2 separate regions of the Homo sapiens genome follow, and region 2 is linked to region 1. Evidence: promoter capture Hi-C in human tissues and cell types (Jung and others, 2019). All regions are on one chromosome and are shown on one strand. The core of a region is centred on a gene start or on the middle of the fragment in contact, and the rest is flanking DNA. Distances in the headings are between cores, read along the strand shown. Region 1 holds the start of GPR158 (G protein-coupled receptor 158). Region 2 has its middle 5.5 kb from the start of ARHGAP21.

Region 1 (3,798 bases), core at 472-2,971:
AATATAAATCTAATAACCACTCTTTGCATAACTATAAAAACTCATTTGGAGACCAACCACTGCGGTTTGAAAAACTGGTTGCTGTGTCTTCTTCCAAAAACCCTCATCACTGGTGTGTCAGGCAGACTTCTCTTCTTGGGTGAGGAGATTGATTTTTAAGTTAGCTTCATCATCATGATCTTCCCATTCATTCACTAATTTAGCAACTATTTAGCCAGAGCCTACTATGTGCCAGGTAGTGTTCTGGGTGCTCAAGGTACCTCAGTGACCAATGCAGACAAAGATTTTTGCTCTTTTGGAGCTTACATTCCAGTCCTTAAGTATTTTCTCAATAGGAAGGATGACATGAAATAGTACAGTGAATCTAAGCAGTGCCTGCTTAGAATGCCATGAGGGACATTTTTGTTAGTTGGGAATTAAAGTAAGTTGGATATTTTCTATTTGTGTCTTTCTTGGGGAATTTGAAAATAGAGGTGCATATGGAAAGTGGAGCTAGCTGTGCAAAACACTACTTTTCTGGTACCAGTCTACTTTTGGAGTGTCAGAAGACACTTAAATTCTCTAATAAGCGTCAAAACATCAATTAGATTGTGTTAAGAAATTTACCAATAATTTGGGGGACTTGGCATACTTGCTCAGTTCTTCTTTCTTCTGCTGGGATATCCCAACCTTTAGCTAAATAGAAGTCTTAGTTCTTATCTCTCAATTCCAGGAACTCCCAGTCAGGATGATTTCCCTTCTCACTCAACACAGGCTCCTTCTCATTCTCCCAGAGCTCATGAGTCCTCCCCCTTGCTCTCTCCCTTACACATCTTTACTTGCATACATTTTTACACGTTCCCCTCCATTCTGGCCCCCAAGCAGAGATTCCTTAAATATGACTTTTTTTTCTCTCCTTAAAGCACAGCTGGTAGATTTCTCCATTACTCCCTCAGCTAAGATGAGCCTAGACAAGTATGTTTTAATCATTTCTTTAACTGACAACAAGAAAGATGATTTGATAATTTGCCTAAAATGAGCAGATGCTCAGGAGGACACGTCTCCATCCTATGTCCCTTCTGTCTAATTTCACCTAGAAATGAAAACTACTCCCTTCTCCCTCTTTTCCAGGCAAAAGGCTGATTTAACTAAGCATGCAAGACGCCAACACCCTCCCCCTCAGTACGTCCAAGTTTCCTTCGCTCTGAGCCACCGAATCTCTGCTTCTCCCCCCTCTGCCGCCCACCCTACGCCACCCACGCAGGTTTCCGAGTCATCCGGAACGCGAGTGGGTGCGAGGACTCGGCAGGCTGCCTCCCGCGCCCCCGCCGCCCGCGGGCCGCCTCGGGTTCAGCACTGGACAGCTCCCTCCCCGGCCCCACAAATGGCAGTCGGCTGATTGACAGAGGAGCCGACCAAACAGGGAACAAGACGACTTGCAGCCGCCCTACAAGGGTTTGGTTGCGGCCAAGCTGCCTCTTTAAACTGGCTTTCCTCCCCCGAGGAGGGAGCAGGGAGAGAGGGTGGAGTGTGGTTTGCGGCCAAACCTAAAGGCTGCAATTAACCAGCCGCCCGGCCTTCGCTACTCCGGACAGACGAACGTCTTAAAGGACGTCTTCGCTCCTCGGGAGTCGCGGCTGCGCTCGCGGTGCGGGTCTGGGCGCGCGCCCCGCGCCTCCGGGCGAAGCGGTCGAGGAGGAGCCAGTGCCGGGAGGCGGGAACGACCTGCGGCGGGTGAGACTATGGAGCAGCGTCTTCGGCGGCCGCGGCGGCAGCAGCAGCAGCAGCTTCTGAACGCGCCTCAATGAGAGCGGCGGTGGCGGCAGCCGGGCCGAGAGACGGACTCGGGCTGACTCCAGCCGCTGGGAGCGCGAGGCCATGTAACCCGCTCGGCTCCAGGCTGCGAGGTGCGTAATCCCCAGCCGGCCCCTCGCGCAGCGGGCACGGCCAGCGCTGCCACAGGTGACTTGATTTCTGCGACGGTAGCTTAGCCACCCGGGGCCAATCTCGAAACATTCTTATTTTCAAGTCCTTTGGACTGGGTGCCATCTGGAGAAGGGGGAAGACTCCTCGAAAAAGTCTGACTGTTGAGAAACTGACGATCCAAATTTAAAAAGTGATTCCCCCCCCTCCCGTTCCCTCCTCTTCTCTCTGGGAGGCAGATGGGAGCCATGGCTTACCCCTTACTCCTCTGCCTCCTGCTTGCTCAGCTGGGATTGGGAGCTGTTGGCGCCAGCCGCGACCCCCAAGGACGGCCGGATTCCCCTCGAGAGAGGACCCCGAAGGGGAAGCCGCACGCCCAGCAGCCGGGTCGAGCCTCTGCCTCGGACTCCTCGGCTCCCTGGAGCCGCTCCACCGATGGCACCATCTTGGCGCAGAAACTCGCCGAGGAGGTGCCCATGGACGTGGCCTCTTACCTCTACACCGGGGACTCCCACCAGCTGAAGCGAGCCAACTGCTCCGGCCGCTACGAGTTGGCGGGCCTGCCGGGGAAGTGGCCAGCCCTGGCCAGCGCGCACCCCTCCTTGCACCGGGCGCTGGACACACTGACACACGCCACCAACTTCCTCAACGTGATGCTGCAGAGCAATAAGTCGCGGGAGCAGAACTTGCAGGACGACCTGGATTGGTACCAGGCGCTGGTGTGGAGCCTTCTGGAGGGCGAGCCCAGCATCTCCCGGGCGGCCATCACCTTCAGCACCGATTCGCTGTCCGCACCGGCCCCACAGGTCTTCCTCCAGGCCACGCGCGAGGAGAGCCGCATCCTGCTCCAAGACCTGTCCTCCTCCGCACCCCACCTGGCCAACGCCACTCTGGAGACCGAGTGGTTCCACGGCCTCCGGCGCAAGTGGAGGCCCCACTTACACCGCCGCGGCCCCAATCAGGGGCCCCGGGGCCTGGGCCACAGCTGGCGGCGCAAGGACGGGCTCGGCGGGGACAAGAGCCACTTCAAGTGGTCTCCGCCTTATCTGGAGTGCGAGAACGGGAGTTACAAGCCCGGGTGGCTGGTTACTCTTTCCTCTGCCATCTACGGGTTGCAGCCTAACCTGGTCCCGGAATTCAGGTAGGGAGGGCCGGGGGGCAGGGGGGAAGGCAAAAGCGAAGCTTTCCTTCCGGTCTTGTGGGTGGGTGCACGTGTGAGGAAGGAACCCTTGGCTGTGACGCGAACGCTTCTCACCCTCAGAGTAGAGACCCGGGCTGAGGGACACCCCACGCGGGCGCGGGTGCTTGGGGGCAAGAAGCGCCCCACGCCCGTCAGCTTCCGGCGCTCGGCGAAAGCCATTCATTCTCTCGGACCAGTTTCCCCGCACTGGGCGAGGGACAGGCAGCCCTTGGCAGGACGGAGACACCCCCGCTGCTCTGTGCTTCCCTCCAATTGTCCGGAGAGCAGGGAGGGGCGTTCCCCACCGGGGGGCGATGCGACAACTTGGCGAGCGCCGGGTGTGTCCGCGGAGTGGCAAGCCTCAGATGAGAGGCGAAAAGGGAGCAGGAGGAACAGAGAGTTCCTTGTTTCTGCCACTTTGGGGTAGCCTCTGCCTGCTTCCTACGTGTGCAGTTGGGGGCACCGGTCTGTTGTTAGTCAGAGCTTATAATTAAAACTGTGCCATCTCCTCGCAGTTCCGGCCCCTCAGCAGTGAGTCAGTCCCAGCAGCTAGCTGTCTCTGGGATCCAGACTTTGCAGCTTGGTCAGGGTGCTCCTTCTACCGGTCTCCCCTCTCCCCGCAATTGATCTTTCCTTCCTCGGTGGCCTTTTCCTCCTCTTCCCTGTCTTAGGCATACTTAAGGGTTCTCCAGCCCTTCACACACTCACATGATTTA
Region 2 (3,556 bases), core at 485-2,984, 450 kb before region 1:
CTGTCACCAGGCTGGAGTGCAATGGCACAGTCTCGGCTGACTGCAACCTCTGCCTCCTGGGCTCAAGGGATTCTGGTGTCTCAGCTTCCTGAGTAGCTGGAACTACAGGCACATGCCACCACACCCGGGTAATTTTTCTTTCTTCCCCGCCCCCACCCCGTAGAGACAGGGTTTCACCACGTTACCCAGACTGGTCTTGAACAAATGATGCCTCAGCCTCCCAAAGTTCAGGGTTTACAGGCGTGAGCCACCGCGCTTGGTCATCATTTGGATGCCTTCTGACCAGACCAAAAAGTGAGTGTGGCCCCCCACGCATCTGGAAAGAGGAAGCCTGCAGCTGGTTTTTCTCCATTCCAAAGGCTAATTGGCGTAATTGGTGGAGGGTGCAAGCCCTTGGAATTCTCTTTAGCTGCCCATCGTGGACATCTCACTTGTAAACACCTCCACCAGAGGGAGGGCAAGGGAAAGGAAAGGGGGCCAAACTTCAGTCACGCGGCTACGTGTTAGTTTCAGTGAGAGATTTGGTGAAACAATAGGTTTTGGGGCCATTGTAACTGAAAGGAGATTGAAACTAACTGGTTGCTATCTTGATAGTTTTCTTTATCCTCAAATATCATGGATAAGCAAGAGCTAACAGTAATTCTAGCTTTGTTTGCTTTGAAAGGCTATTTTCCTCCTTAGAGTATAGCTAATAAATGTGTGGGTTTCCTATAATCAAACTTCTTGGAGTATCCTTTGAAATAGCCTCTGAAATTACTATAGCTATATTAATAAAAACTACAAGAAAGCTTTATACACTAAATCTAGGCAAGACATTTATGAAGATGAGAACTGTATCCTTAAAAGGTAAGTGTTGGCTTTGCTAATGACATAATATTGTTTTGGTGAACCAATATCAAGGGAAAAAATGTCAAAGCCAAAAATAGAGGCAAAGTATCCCAGCCCCTGGTGTGGAAGGCCATTCTATGATAATCTATGAATGATTTCTACTCTGAATATGTTAACAGAAGCTGGCACATCTGAGAAGCACAAGTGTTTGCTAGTGAATCCACAAATGAAATTTGCAATTTGGGTTGAAGCCTTTGCAAAACTACGTTAAGACCAATAGCCCTCAGAAGAGTAAGGGGTTTTGTTTTGTTTATTTCTTATTCACACATTACCAAAAAGACACATTACATGCTAATATTACTTTGAAAGAGCAAAAGACTTTTTTTTTTTTTTTGAGACGGAGTCTCACTTTGTCATCCAGGCTGGAGTGCAGTGGTGTGATCTTGGCTCACTGCAACCTCTGCCTCCTGGGTTCAAGGGATTCTCGTGCCTTAGCCTCCCCAGTAGCTGGGACGACAGGCATGCACCACCACACCCAGCTAATTTTTGTATTTTTTAGTAGAGACAGAATTTTACCATGTTGGCCAGGCTGGTCTCGAACTCCTGACCTCAGGTGATCCACCCACCCCGCCCTCCCAAAGTGCTGGGATTACAGGCGTGAGCCACCATGCCTGGACAAAAAAAGCAAAAGATTTTCATGTTGAACTGAATAGCTACAGAAATCCCACCACACTTGCAAGGCATTTAACTATTGTAATTGAGAGAAGGGAATGATTCTCCACAATCAGCAATTTCTAGGACTCTTCCTTCATCTCTTTTAAACAAATAATGTAAATGATTTACTAATTTATTGTTCTGCATTTGCTAAATATGTATCTTATTATTTCTCTCCACATGATTACTATCTTTGATGATTAATTTCTAGAAGGCAATGACATTATTTAATTCATTATATACAATGCCTAGTAAAGTGCCACACACAATAAATATTCTTGAATAATTTATCTGCCCTCAGTTTATTGTCATCTTTTCCTCCTCTGGACTAGAATACTGGTGTTTATTTTTGGGTTTGTTTGTTTGTTTGTTTGTTGCTGTTACTTGATTATAAACAATCTTCTTTTGTTACACGGATATATTGTGGGAAAAAAATAATAAATCTTATTTAGCTAAATATTATCTCCTTTTTTAATCTGGATTATAAACTTCTCTAGAGGAGATTCCTGGAGCTTTTACTACTTTCACATCCCCACAATATCTACCACATCTTTTACACATAGAAATTACTACAGAATTATTCAAGAAATAAAAGATGGTTATGTCACTATTATTGATAAATATTTATACCTCAAGAAATTCCTGGCTGTACAGGTCCAATAACAGTACAGGTCACAGGAAGATATATGTATAGGCCTATGTGAATATGCCTAAAACAAAGAGTGTAAATTATAAGAGGTATCCACAAAGAGAACACTTGGTATGGGCCTCAACTTTCGGAAATGCCACATTTTATCTCCTTATCGAAACTTCTCTGGCCAGGCGCTGTGGCTCACACCTGTAATCCCAGTACTTTGGGAGGCCCGAGTGGGTGGATCACTTGAGGTCAGACATTCGAGACCAGCCTGGACAACATGGTAAAACCCCATCTCTACTAAAACTACAAAAATTAGCTGGGCATGGTGGCACGGTCCTGTAATCCCAGCTTACTCAGGAGGCTGAGACAGGAGAATTGCTTGAACCTGGGAGGCAGGGCCAAGCCTGGTTGACAGAGTGACACTCCATCTCAAATAAATAAATAAATAAACTTCACTGCCAGCGATTTAGCTGTTTTTCAGCCATAAGACCATCCTAAAAATTAATATCACTTACATTTTGGTAGAAACTATAAAATTTCACCCCAAAGCTTATCCATAATCATATATCAAAAGTTTTCTTTAGATCCAAATTATTATTCAGCATTAGAATTTCCATAATTAAAATTTAGTGGTATGCTAGTCATAGTCATCAACATTGTTAAGTTTATTTATATGTTTTAAGAAAAAATATGAATAAAAAATCCATGTGCAAGTTTTTATTTTATCCTAAGAATCGTGACTTTCATTTATAAGTATTCCAACTTTCCTTAAAAATATGAGACTAGTTTTTAAAATGTTTCCACCCACCCAACTAAATATGAGTTGGAACATTGTGAAAATACAGTGCAATCTGGAGAAACCCATATTACAACTGGAGAATTGAAATATGTTTTTATCATTTTGGAATAGAATGCTAAATTCCAAACATTTTAACTAGGAAACTGTGCTAGCAGTTGATTTTTAATATCATAGGCCTAATCCAAAGTAATCAAATCTTTTCATCAAAAAAAATAAAAAGTTCTAGCCTTCCCTTTCATTGTCATTGAGCAGAATCAGGAAAGACACCTAAAGACTTCTCTATTCCTTGATTCAAGAAACTCTGAGTATCTTTCAATATTGTCTAGCACTGTAGATTCCATTCCTCTATCCCTATAATTGCTTGCATTCCTTATTAATCCAAAAGTCAACTAACCAAGGCTTCTTCCCTCAGATAGGAAAAGATCGCAGGGCAATATGTGGTAATTCACATCTGGGCTTAAGTAGGATAGATGGCAGGCTTACATAACCTTTCTCCTCAAAGATTTTTTCAATTATATTTTAATTTTTAAAAATTACGAAGTAAAAAAGAAAAAAACAAACACTAAAACTATGAAGGG

Evidence for each region. The method cuts DNA at HindIII sites, captures the fragments that hold promoters and counts their contacts. A contact is called where the count stands out against the background at its distance.
Region 2: a contact is called between a fragment that was not itself captured here and the fragment with the promoter of GPR158 in region 1, in 1 of the 25 tissues and cell types used here (dorsolateral prefrontal cortex).

Annotation. Positions count from the first base shown.
Region 1 is chr10:25,173,280-25,177,077 of GRCh38, forward strand. It overlaps GPR158 (G protein-coupled receptor 158), which reads left to right and starts at 1,722. Exons shown (of 11, transcript NM_020752.3): 1 at 1,722-3,043. The coding sequence starts at 2,142. It overlaps GPR158-AS1 (GPR158 antisense RNA 1), which reads right to left and starts at 2,997. Exons shown (of 2, transcript NR_027333.2): 1 at 2,397-2,997. The HindIII fragment of the contact is 11,687 bases long and covers 1-3,798 here.
Region 2 is chr10:24,727,604-24,731,159 of GRCh38, forward strand. No RefSeq gene overlaps it. Among named protein-coding and RNA genes, the nearest start is that of ARHGAP21, 5.5 kb to the left of the region's middle. The HindIII fragment of the contact is 4,272 bases long and covers 1-3,556 here.